Linked DNA regions of Homo sapiens: all the other regions are linked to region 1. The links are contacts of gene promoters, found by promoter capture Hi-C in blood cells and fetal thymus (Javierre and others, 2016). All regions are on one chromosome and are shown on one strand. The core of a region is centred on a gene start or on the middle of the fragment in contact, and the rest is flanking DNA. Distances in the headings are between cores, read along the strand shown.

Evidence for each region. The method cuts DNA at HindIII sites, captures the fragments that hold promoters and counts their contacts. A CHiCAGO score of 5 or more calls a contact.
Region 2: the fragment with the promoter of FAM131B here is called in contact with the fragment with the promoter of WEE2-AS1 in region 1 in 2 of 17 cell types (fetal thymus and activated CD4 T cells); the score reaches 9.2 in fetal thymus.
Region 3: the fragment with the promoter of KDM7A here is called in contact with the fragment with the promoter of WEE2-AS1 in region 1 in 1 of 17 cell types (activated CD4 T cells); the score reaches 6.3 in activated CD4 T cells.
Region 4: the fragment with the promoter of NDUFB2 here is called in contact with the fragment with the promoter of WEE2-AS1 in region 1 in 16 of 17 cell types (naive CD8 T cells, total CD4 T cells, non-activated CD4 T cells and 13 more); the score reaches 24.2 in naive CD8 T cells.

Annotation. Positions count from the first base shown.
Region 1 is chr7:141,736,564-141,739,291 of GRCh38, reverse strand. WEE2-AS1 (WEE2 antisense RNA 1) reads left to right here and starts at 1,250. Exons shown (of 4, transcript NR_199841.1): 1 at 1,250-1,909. It overlaps SSBP1 (single stranded DNA binding protein 1), which reads right to left and starts at 934. Exons shown (of 7, transcript NM_003143.3): 1 at 882-934; 2 at 102-168. The coding sequence starts at 125. RefSeq lists an enhancer at 1,032-1,917. The HindIII fragment of the contact is 7,644 bases long and covers 1-1,345 here.
Region 2 is chr7:143,361,336-143,364,063 of GRCh38, reverse strand. It overlaps FAM131B (family with sequence similarity 131 member B), which reads left to right and starts at 1,351. Exons shown (of 7, transcript NM_001031690.3): 1 at 1,351-1,488. The coding sequence starts at 1,461. It overlaps FAM131B-AS1 (FAM131B antisense RNA 1), which reads right to left and starts at 2,358. Exons shown (of 3, transcript NR_183342.1): 1 at 2,007-2,358; 2 at 807-874; 3 at 1-163. The HindIII fragment of the contact is 5,612 bases long and covers 1-2,728 here.
Region 3 is chr7:140,175,658-140,178,385 of GRCh38, reverse strand. KDM7A (lysine demethylase 7A) reads left to right here and starts at 1,403. Exons shown (of 20, transcript NM_030647.2): 1 at 1,403-1,642. The coding sequence starts at 1,449. It overlaps KDM7A-DT (KDM7A divergent transcript), which reads right to left and starts at 1,125. Exons shown (of 1, transcript NR_024451.1): 1 at 1-1,125. RefSeq lists silencers at 995-1,424, 1,465-1,564, 2,205-2,384, 2,395-2,674 and an enhancer at 847-1,770. The HindIII fragment of the contact is 8,961 bases long and covers 1-2,728 here.
Region 4 is chr7:140,695,393-140,698,120 of GRCh38, reverse strand. NDUFB2 (NADH:ubiquinone oxidoreductase subunit B2) reads right to left here and starts at 1,413. Exons shown (of 4, transcript NM_004546.3): 1 at 1,279-1,413. The coding sequence starts at 1,376. NDUFB2-AS1 (NDUFB2 antisense RNA 1) reads left to right here and starts at 1,044. Exons shown (of 2, transcript NR_024454.1): 1 at 1,044-1,206; 2 at 1,301-2,728. RefSeq lists an enhancer at 1,095-1,404. The HindIII fragment of the contact is 6,958 bases long and covers 1-2,379 here.

The sequences.
Region 1 (2,728 bases), core at 1-2,500:
CTCAAAGGTCTTTTGCCCCTGTAGTTAAAAGCCTAAAGAAGTCTTCTGATCACTGTGGCTGATAGTAATACATCTCAGTATTAATACAGACAAGTGACTACCTGTAATACAGGTCTTCGAAACATGGCTTCTATTTTCTTTTCTTACAGTCTAATCTTTAGGCTTTTCCTGAAGGAAAAAAACAAAATAAGAAAAAAACATTACCTCTTATGGCAAAAGTACAACTCACCAGTCCTAAATTCCTAACTATATTCATAATTTTTATGCACTCCAATTTTGTGACCACAACGTACCAACATTCCTGCACATCTGATGAGGATTCCTTCCTCCCTCCCAAATAAACTCACACCTGTATGTCTTTTTGGTCCCAAATAACTTCCTCTTCCTCCAACCCATCGACAAAATTTTGATTCTGAGTTAATCCCACTTCCAATCCACTGTCTTCTCAAATTTCATTACTATGCAAGCTCCCTTAGAGCAGAGATTTGTATCTGCTTTATTCACTGCCATTTTCTAAACTTCTAAAAAAGTTCTTAATGCATAGTAAGGCCTCCATAAATATTAGCATCACCAAGGGACTTATATCTGAAACCTGTTACTGAAAAATTACTGCCTTCATCTCCGTTAACAAAGACCAAGCAGCGTAGAGACCCCCGGGCTAGCCAGCCACACCATAGGGAGAGGTGGACACCCTTTACCGAAGATGGCGCCACCACCTGAAAACCGAGGAGAACTGGAAGGAAATCACGCGGTCCTCCGCACGACTGATGAAAGGGCCAGACACCTACACAGAAACACCTCCCGACCCACGCAGGATCACGCGCAGCCAAAACACACGACTCCAGCACTTCCTTCGCGCTGGCTATCCCTTCCTCCCTCACCTGACGATCTAACCCGAGCAGCCCAGCCACGCAGGGGATCACTTCCGGCGCACAGGGAACGCAAAGCTCGCCAGAGGAAAAAGGAAACAGAAACTCCGCAACTTGCGCCTTGGAAATACTGCCGGCTAGCGCTGCGGGAAACGGCTCCCCTTAACTCTGAAGTTCCGCGATCTTCTCTTTGTGCGCGGGCGGATGGATCAACGCCGCCAAGTGGTGAGTTTGGAAGGTTTCAAGTTTAGAAGGTTTCAAGTTTAGAAGGTTTCAAGTTTGGAAAGAAATGAAATTATGTGATGAGGTTTCTAACTGGGCCCAGGAGGGGGCGAGGTAGGCAAAACAGAGACTAGCTCTGCCTGGAGGGAAAAAAAAGCAACATTTGTGACCAGCCTAGGCGACATAGTGAGACCTGTCTCTACAAAAAATATATAATTAGCTGGGCGTGGTGGCGCGCGCCTGTGGTCCAAGCTTCTCCGGAGGCTGAGGTCGGGGGATCGCCTGAGCCCTGGAGGTCGTTGCTGCATTGAGCCGTGAACGCACCACTGCATTCCAGCCTGGGCAACAGAGCGAACTCTATCTCAAAACAAAACAAAACAAAACAAGAAAAAGAAAAAAAGAAGAAAATTAAAAAAAAAAAGAAAGAAAAAGAACGTCCCAGGTCTGTTGAAGCACTAAGAAAAGCAGAAAAAGAAAGGGGAGCCAGGGAAGGGCTGGCAGGCTGTGCAATTTAAGGGAGCACCAGAAAAACTGGCAATCAAATAATATATTAATGTAATATTTTAAAAAGTAAAAATTAATGCAGGAAATCCGGGAGGAACAAAATAAGAGTCATGTGTACCTTAACAACAGGGTAAGGTCTGAGGATTGCGTCATTAGGCGATTTTGTTGCTGTACGAACACCACAGAATGTACTTTGACGACCTAGATGGTGGAGCCTGGACACACCTCGGCTCTGTGGTGTGGCCTGCTGCTTCCAGGCTGCAAACCTGACAGCATGGGGCTGTACTGAATACCGCAGACCATTGTAATTCATGGTAAGTATCTGTGTGTCTAAACATATGTAAACATGGAAAAGGTACAGTACAAATGCGGTATAAAAGATAAAAATGGCACACCTGTATGGGGCGCTTACCATGAATGGAGCTTGCGGAACTGGAAGTTGCTGTGGGTGAGTAAATGAGTGAGTGGTGGCCCAACATGAAGGTCTAGGACATTATTGTACCCACTAAACACTTCATAAACACTGTACACTTAGGCTACACTCAGTTTATAAAAAATACTTTTCTTCCTTTAATAAACTTTCACTCACTATAACTTTATAAATCTTCCAAATTTTTTTACGTTTTAACTGTTTTGTAATAACAATTAGCTTAAAACACACACTGTACCACTGTACAAAAATATTTTTCTTATATCCTTATTCTACAAGCTTTTTTCTACCTTTGCTTTTTTTCTTTTTTTTTTTAACTTTTTAGCCATTTTTTAAAAAAACTAAGACATAAACACACACATTAGCCTAGGCCTACACAGGGTCATTATGATCAATCTCAGCCTTCCACTTCCACATCTTGTCCCACTGGAAGGTTTTCAGAAGCAGTGACACACAGGGAGCTGTCATCTCCTATAACAGTGTCTTCTTCTGGAATCCCTCCTGAAGGACCTGCCTGAGGCTGTTTTACAGTTAACTTTTAAAAAATAAGTTAAATAATAATATAATAAAAAGTATAGTAAATACATAAACCAGTGACATAGTCATTATTAATATCAAGTAACACATGAGTAATACATTGCATTCTGATGTTTTAGCAGGTATGATGTCACTAGACGATAGGAATTTTTCAACTCCATTGTAA
Region 2 (2,728 bases), core at 102-2,601, 1.6 Mb before region 1:
CGGTTTTATAGATGTAGATTTGGCTTATTTCTTCATGCACATACACCGAAGATGGATTCTGTCACCATAATCTCATCTCCTCAATCTGCAATTCAGTTGTTAGTGTCTTCTTCTTGCACATCTTCATCTGCCACCCCATGGGATGTAGCTCTCCATTCATAATCTAAAGGTTAGAAAGTTGCATCCATAAGACTTAGCCTCCCTGTTAGGAGCCCACACCAGGGACCCCTGGCCCATTGCCTTCTCTCTCTGCAACCTCGGAGAGACCTAAAAGTGGGCGAGGTGCAGTCAGAGCCTGGATGGGCACTTGCTTCTGTGAATGCCCACCTGCCCACTCTCTCACACTTTGGGCTTTCTGGGTACACCTTAGACAAAAGGGTCTCCTTGCCCTTTCTCATGCATCTTTTCTGGACTCCACTTCTTACCTGCTGTAACCACAGTGCTCATTTAACCCTTGCAACTTAGACCTTCATCTCCTCCCCATGGGGCTTGAGGTATCTACCTGGCCCAGTCCCACTAGCCAGAGGCCAATCTTTCTCTCTCTTTGCTGCTTCGGGACCGCCTTGCTTTCATTTGTCCGAGAAGATCACGTCTCAGAAAAGTTAAACTGGATTCAAGACGATGTCTCCTAGCCAGCCTCGGGTCCTGACATTGTTGTTAGTCTACTGCGAATGAACTGTCCTCCTCATATTCTCCAATCCCCAACCAGGCCTGGAGGTCAACTATCTGCACATCCCCACACCCACCCCTGAATGTCCAGCGAGCACAGAGAAGTGGACTACACGATTCACTTGCAAAGACTTCACCTTCTGTTTGGATGGACAAAATAGCGCACTCGAAACAACAGAGCCCAAAGCTGTGTCCAATCACGTTCCTGTGTGTGTCCCAGATGCGGCCCCAGGAGGAAAACAAGTGTTTGCGGAATTTGGTGGCCAAAGGCCCTTGGGCCTGGCTTTATTCTCACCACCACCCCACTTTCTCTCAGGGCATCCCCTGACCCCGGCCCGCAAAATCCATCAACCAGAACCTCGGGGTAGGCCCTGGGTTCGTGCCTCGGCTCCTGAAACCCAAGCCGGGGTTCTCCAGGAGAGAGCCCCGGGAGCGGGGCTTGGCACGGGCGGGAGGAGGGGGGCGGCGACGGCGGCCCCAGATCCCCGAGGGAGCGCCCCGGCACGGCCGGAGCAGGGGCGGGGAGGCGCGGGGCGCAGCCAATCCCCGGGCCGCCCCCTCCCCGGCCGCGGCGAGCCGAGCCGGGGCGGGGGAGCCAGGCGGCGGCGGCGGCGGCGGCGGCGGCGGCGACGGAGCTGCCGTGGGGAGGGATGGAGAGGGGAGGGGGGAGCGGAGCCGAGCGGAGACAGCCGCGGCGCTGCAGAGCGGCTGGGGCGGCGGCGCGGCTCCCGGTGCTCCCCCCGGCGCGCGCCCCGAGTCGGTGAGGGCCCGGCTCTGCGGCCCCCGGAGCCATGGGCTGCATCGGCTCCCGGACTGTGGGTGGGTACCGCGGCCGGGCGGGGGCAGGGCTGGGCCCCCCGGGCCGCCCTCCGACCCCCTCCCCCATCCCTCTCCTCGCGCCTCCGGGCGCCCCGCTCCGCACCCGCCTTGCCCTGCTAGCTCCTTCACTTTCCTTCCGTCCGCCCGCGGTCCCTCTGTCCCTCCTTCCTGCCCGCTCTCGTCTTGCGCCTCCGGGGCTGCCATCCCGCTCGGCTCGCTTCCTTCTCCCCGTCGCCCTCCCGCAGGCGCGGTCCTCTCCATCCTCTCCATCGCCCTCCTCTCCTCTGCCTCTCGGCCCGACGCTCGGTCCCCTCATCCCTGCCCCTCCAGGCCATCCGCCTCTGCTCCGCCGTCCCCAGCGCCTCCTCGCATCCCCCACTCCGGAGCAGCCCCCCGCGAAGGACCCTCGGCCTCCGCGCCAGCCCCGAGTTTCTTTCGCACGCCCCCCACGCCACCCCCCGCCGCCGCCTCCATCTGGCTCGGGTGCTTTGCCCCATCTCTCTCTCCCTCTCCGTTGCCTTTTACTGTCGTTCCTGCCTCCTCCGATTCGCTTTGTTCACGTGCGTTTTCCCTCTGGGGCGGGGGCGGGATGAGCCCGGGTTCCACGCCCGGAGGGACAGGGCCAGGGCCGGGTGGAGGGAAGGGGCTGGGGGACGCGGGGAGGAGATGGGGGCTTCGAGGCGCTGGGAGGGGTCGGGAGCCCGCGGCCCGGGAGGGTGGGGCCGGCCCTGCCTCGGCGGCCGGGGACCCGCCTGCACCTGTCAGCGGGGGCCGGCGGGGCGGGGCCGGCTCTTTATTTACCTTTGACGCGGGGAGGGAAGAGAGGCGCCTCCTAATCCATCTTCTCCCTCCAGCTTCTGCCTGGCTACCGCCCCTGACCCCCACCCAGGCACCCACTCCACTCTCGCCGCTCAGCGAATTCATCCGGCCCTCTCCCACCCCCTCCCCCATTCTTCCCCTTTCCAACTCCCAATTTCTCCCGCCTACACCTCCCGGTGACCTCAGGCTGAGAGAATAATTCGTATTATTATTACAAACAAACTCACTCTCCAGAAGCCTGATTTCCCTGAGACCCGGTTTATTTCCATGGATACCCCCTCCTCCTCTGCTTTCACCCCTTCTCCGCGGCTCTCTCCCTCCCCGCTGCCCCCCACAGCTCTGACTCAGCTCTCCGTCTCTCACAAAGGCCACCTCCCGCTCCCCTCTCCCCCCGCACCCCGCCCTCCCCTGTCTCCCTTCT
Region 3 (2,728 bases), core at 154-2,653, 1.6 Mb after region 1:
CACAGCACTGCACTGCACTCCAGCGCGGGCAACAAGAACGAAACTCCGTTTCAAAGAAAGAAAGGAAAGAAAGGAAAGGAAAGGAAAGGAAAGGGAGGGAGGGAAGGAAGGAAGGAAGGAAGGAAGGAAGGAAGGAAGGAAGGAAGGAAAGAAAGGAAAGAAAGAAAGAAATGGAGAATTAGATCAGCGACTCTTTGCCTGGGGGTGGGTGACAGAACAACACTTCTTCCTCCCCTAACAAAAATTACCTATGGAGCTGTGAGGGCTTTCCCCACTGATAGAAATGCCAGCAGAAATTCAGCTACAAATACTCAATCCAATAATCCTTAACATCACTTCCAATCCACAGTTATGATTCCAACGCAATCTTTTCTATACAGTATTTGTCAGCTGTTTTTATTCTTCAGTTTATCATCTTATATTTGGCTCTCAATTTCACCCATAAATTATTGATGGCTTATTATACGCCAAGTACCCTGCGCTCCGCTTTTTGTGGTATCCCTCTTCGGAGCGAGAAGTCACTTAGAATTTTACCCCATCTTCCCCACTTGGGAATCGGAAGGGTTCATAGCTAAGTTTTGTTATTTATAAGCACGCCGGCTCTTCTCTATCCCTCTCTCCACCAACCCCATTTCAAGGTTGGTCCCTCCCAGCGGACGACAGTGATGAATTCCTCTTGGGGACAGCCCTCCCGCAACTAACGGTGGCTCCATCGACGCTCTGGTCTCCTTGCTGCTCGCTGGGAATTCGGGTGGGACGTTTTCCAAAGTTTGGATTCCACGGCACATTCCTCCCTCGGAAAGGCACAACCGGCTCGGCGTGTCAGCTCAGCTGGACTCACGCCGGTGCGGGGCCGCAGCTCCGGTTCTCGCTGGGCGGCTGCGGAGGGCTGGGCGATTCTCTCAGCGTCGCGAGGCGACCCGGGCAGCAGCAAACTTCTCCGCTTCCCCTCTTCGGGACGCGGCACCTCTTCTGCCCTTGAGCACTCCGCAGGAACTTCCCCCGGCCTCGGCTCTCGCTCCGAAATAACCGAGCCAGCTCCTCGCACGCTCCCGCCGTCCTCCTCCGGCTGCGGCCGCGCGCCCGCCGCCACCGCCACCACCGCGCGTGTCCTCACGGGGCCTCAGCTCCCTCCGCCCCCGCAGCCGCCTGCGTGCCCTTCAACAGCTCCCTCCGCCCGGCCGTCGCGGAGAGGAGCGGGGAGCGCGCGCCGGCGCCAGAGACGTGCGCGAGACGCACGGCCCCGCGCCGAGCGCCGGAAGCAGCCGAGTCTGGGCCTCGCGCGTCGCGCGCGCCTCCTCCCCCTCCGCCAGCCGCCGCGGCCTCGCGCGCGCGCACTGAGGCGCCGCCGCCGCCGCGGCTGCTGCAGGAGGCGGCGCTGGCTGGCGGCTGCGCTCGCTCCAGTCGGCGAGCGGAGTAGCGAGCGAGCGTGTGTGTGTTTTTTAAAGATGGCCGGAGCGGCGGCGGCGGTGGCCGCGGGAGCAGCAGCTGGAGCCGCCGCGGCAGCCGTGTCGGTGGCGGCTCCCGGCCGGGCCTCGGCGCCTCCGCCGCCCCCGCCCGTGTACTGTGTGTGCCGGCAGCCGTACGACGTGAACCGCTTCATGATCGAGTGCGATATCTGCAAGGACTGGTTCCACGGCAGGTAAATAAACCCCCTCCAGCCCCGCAGCCGCCACCGCCGGCCACCGACCAACCGCCGCCGCCGCCGGCCGCCCGCGCCTCCCTCGGGCCGGGCCGCCGCGCCGCGCCCAGCTTTCAGGGGGCCCCGGTGCCTAGCCCCCCGGCCGGGCAGTGGGGCGCGCGGTGCCCCGGGTTCGCCGGGCGGGCTCCAGAGGGGAGCCGGTGGGCTCGCCTGGCCCGGGCGAAGAGTCGCCACAACAAACACGAACAAAGAGGGCCGGCGGATAAGTTGGCAGGGGGAGCCTGGGGCGAGGGGACGCGGCCGGGCGGGCGCGGCGGGGGCGTCGGGCGGAGCGCCGGCCGGGTCCGCAGCCCCTCGCCAGCCCGGGCCGCCGCCGCCCCGCCCCGCCCCGCCGCGCCCGGGGCTCCGGCCGGAGTCGCCGGCCGCCCCGCCGCTCTGCCCGGCCGGCCGACGCGCCTGCCTTCCTTCCGGGCGGCGATGGGGTCGCCCCGGCCCCGCGTCTCCTCCGCGCCGCGGGTCCCTGTCGCGCCCCCTTCCCCGTCTTTATCAAACTTCCTGGGCCAGTGGGACGGGGGCAGCGGCGGGCCGGAGAGGCGACCGCGCCAGCCAGCTCGGCGGGGCTCCGCGGAGTAAACAGAGCAACAGATGAGGCACTCGCTCTCGGGGACTTGAAAGGTGCCGGGGAAGTTGGGGCCGGGCCCCCGGCGGGCGGCAGGTTGACCCGGGTCGCGGTCCTGGGCCCCCGCACACACCCGGGTCGCCGGGACTGGGGCAGATGGAGTGGGTTGCGGCGGCCCGAAGGGAACGCTTCTCCGGACCCCCTGCGTTGCCCTCGCGCCGCGGCTTAAACTTTACAAAGAGTGCAGTTGCCATCGCTCGAAGCTGGCGACACCGGGACCGCCTGCGGCTGTGCCCGGGCGCCGGTGCCGGCGAACTTGAGTCGGCCGGGCGGACGCTGCGGGGCCGGCTGGCGGCGGCGGCGGACGCTGCCCTCTGATTCAGCCGCCGCCGCGCTCCGGGTTTGACGTTTGAGAGCTCGGGCCGCCTCCGCAGCCAGGCCGCCGACTCGTGTGTTTTGTAATCAAA
Region 4 (2,728 bases), core at 164-2,663, 1.0 Mb after region 1:
TGGGACTTCAGGCAAGTCACTCCTTTCATTTCCTGGGCCTCAGTTCCTTAATAACAACAACAGTTAAAGAATACTTGTACGGTCCTTAGCAGGCACCAGCAATTGTTTTAAACACTTTAGTGAGACCAAGCGCAGTGGCTCGCCTGTATTCCCAACACTTTGGGAGGCCGAGGCTGGAGAATCACTTGAGCCCAGGAGTTAGAGGCTGCAGTGAGCTAGGATCGCGCCACTGCACTCCAGCCTGCCTGACAGAGTTAGACCCCATCTCCTAAAACACACAAACACGCTTTAGATAACAGTAACTCATTTAGTTCCTTGCAAATGGACGCCAAATGGGTGAGGAAACTGAGGCATTAAGAGAATAAGAAACTTTTCCAAGGTCCCACAGCTGGAGTGTGGCAGAGGTGGGATTTGAACCCAGCCACTGTGCGGCCAGAATCCCGCTTGGAATCACGACCCCACACTGCCTCTTGGTAAAGTGTAGCTGATGATCTAAGGGACCTGGAATCATCCATGACTCTTTTCCAGTCCTGCTCTTACGGAATCTCTGCACACCACTAACTCGGCTTCGGCAGCTGCTCCCTACCTCGCACCCGCTCCCTACCTCGCACCCCCAGCCCTCCGCCCTCCGGTCTGCGTCTCGGGCCACCTCGCGGGCGGCTCTGCCTGTCACTCTCCTAAACGCCACGGCTGCCCCAGCGTTGGCTTCCGGCTTTCTGCTCCTCTCACCCGACGGCGCTCTCTCTGGGCGACAGCCTCCACTCCCTGCAGCCAGAGTGATTTTTCAGCATTAAAAAGCGGCCACGTGACGTCTCCGATTAAAGGCTGCCGAACAGACTCTACCCTAAATTCCGCAGCCAGGCACCGGGACCCTGGACCGCGCCCTCCCTAGGCCTCACCGCCGCCGCCCCCCGCCTCGCTCCAGGAGCGTCCACACCCGCCGCGCACGCTGCTTCCTCCGCCTGGACCGCCCGCGCCGGCGCCGACTGGCTCAGCCCGCTCCGCATTCACGCGTGCGTCTCCCGAGGGCAGGCGGCCCCTACTACCATGACGGCCCTGCACACGGTGTCCCATCTGCCCAGCGAAGTCTCTCCCTCTCCCTCCGGCCAGCGGGGTCCCTCTCCTCGAGTCGCGGCTTCAGGAGACACGCGGACTACAGGTCCCAGCATGCCTCGGGACGCGGCCTCTTCAGGCGCCCCAGTCAAGGTGAGAGCGTCCCAGGGACCCGCGCTGTCCGCTACAGGCCGGCGAGGCCCCCATCCCCAGCCCCACACTCACTGACGGACTCCACCATCTCCAGCAGTCCGTGCGCAGCCGCTTCTGAAAAGGCGGCCTCCAACGCGAGCGAAAGACGCCAGCCGAGTCAGAGCGGACATACTCGCTCCCGTCCGCCCCGCGGTCCCCAGCCGCCTCGCCCCTGCCTACTTCGCTTCCCCGGCGCTCCGCCCGCGCCTCCCGTGACGTCACAGAGTCGCTCATCTCCAGGAGTGGGGGAGCCGGCAGCCGCTCCTGACCCAGATTAGCTGTGAGTCCTTCGGCTGCAGGAAACCTCTCTCCCGAGAGCAAAGCCCACGCATAACTTATGGTTGCTGAGCTGCCCCATGCCTTCTGAAACAGCTTGTTGGTTGCCCCTCTGATCCTGTAGGGCTCTCCCCGTGTTCTGCCCCTCCTAAAACTGAGTGGTGTATAATTCTTTTTTTTTTTTTTTTTTCTTTTTGAGACAAGGCCTTGCTCTGTCACCCAGGCTGGAGTGCAGTGACACCATCTCGGCTCACTGCAACCTCTGCCTCCCAGGCTCAAGCGATTCTCCTGCCTCAACTTCCCGAGTAGCTGGGATTACAGGCATTGTGCCAGGCTAAGTTCGTACGCAGCAATAGATAATGCCACAAATGGCTTGATTCGATCCACTGGCTTTAAGGCTGGGTTGGCATAGGCTCAGGGAAGAGACTGCCGTCTTTTTGTCCCTTTCCCGCCTCCACACTGTACCTGATGCGCACTGGCACGAGGGGCTGCGTGACCAGCTGGTGTTCTCCCTCCCAGCCATCTGGAGCCATCCCAACCCCTCTCTGCCTGCTTTGAATGTCCCCTCAAGACCTGGGAAGGAAAAAATAACATCACCTCCTTGAAAAAAACTGCACCAAAGGAATCTCTGTCCACCTAAACCATACTGCTCACTAAAAGACAGGAATGAGGAACTTTATCCTGGAGAAGGAAAGAATGGGAGAAACTAGTCCTGTAGTCAGGGCAGGACTCTCGGAGAGCGCAAGGGCTTGACTCCATTCGCTGCCTGGTGGTCTCTAAGACGAGCAACATAATCTATGAAGGTGCAGGGATAAACTGTGATTTTACCTAAAAAAAAAAAAAAAGAGAAATTAAGCTTTACAAATACCCCCCCTCCAGGCTGACCCCGGGCCCCTCCTAGTCAGCCAGACGGCCACATCAGCTCAGCTCTGAGAAGAAAGCCCGTGGTTGGGCCTGGCAGAGAGGGGCAGGTGGTGGTCACTGCAGGTCTGTCCCTGGGCGCTGCCATGGAGAAGAGGACACACTGGTTATATTAACTCTCTTCATATTCACCAAAATTAATGCCTGCAAGTGGACAGGCGCAGACACTGTGGCAGAGAAACTGTAGTTCCGGACTAGCGGGTGAACCCGGGGCCATGTTAAGGAAGTGGCCAAGCCGTTCTGCTCACGTCCCCGGTATGTCAGCCACTTTCATCAGTTTTGTTTT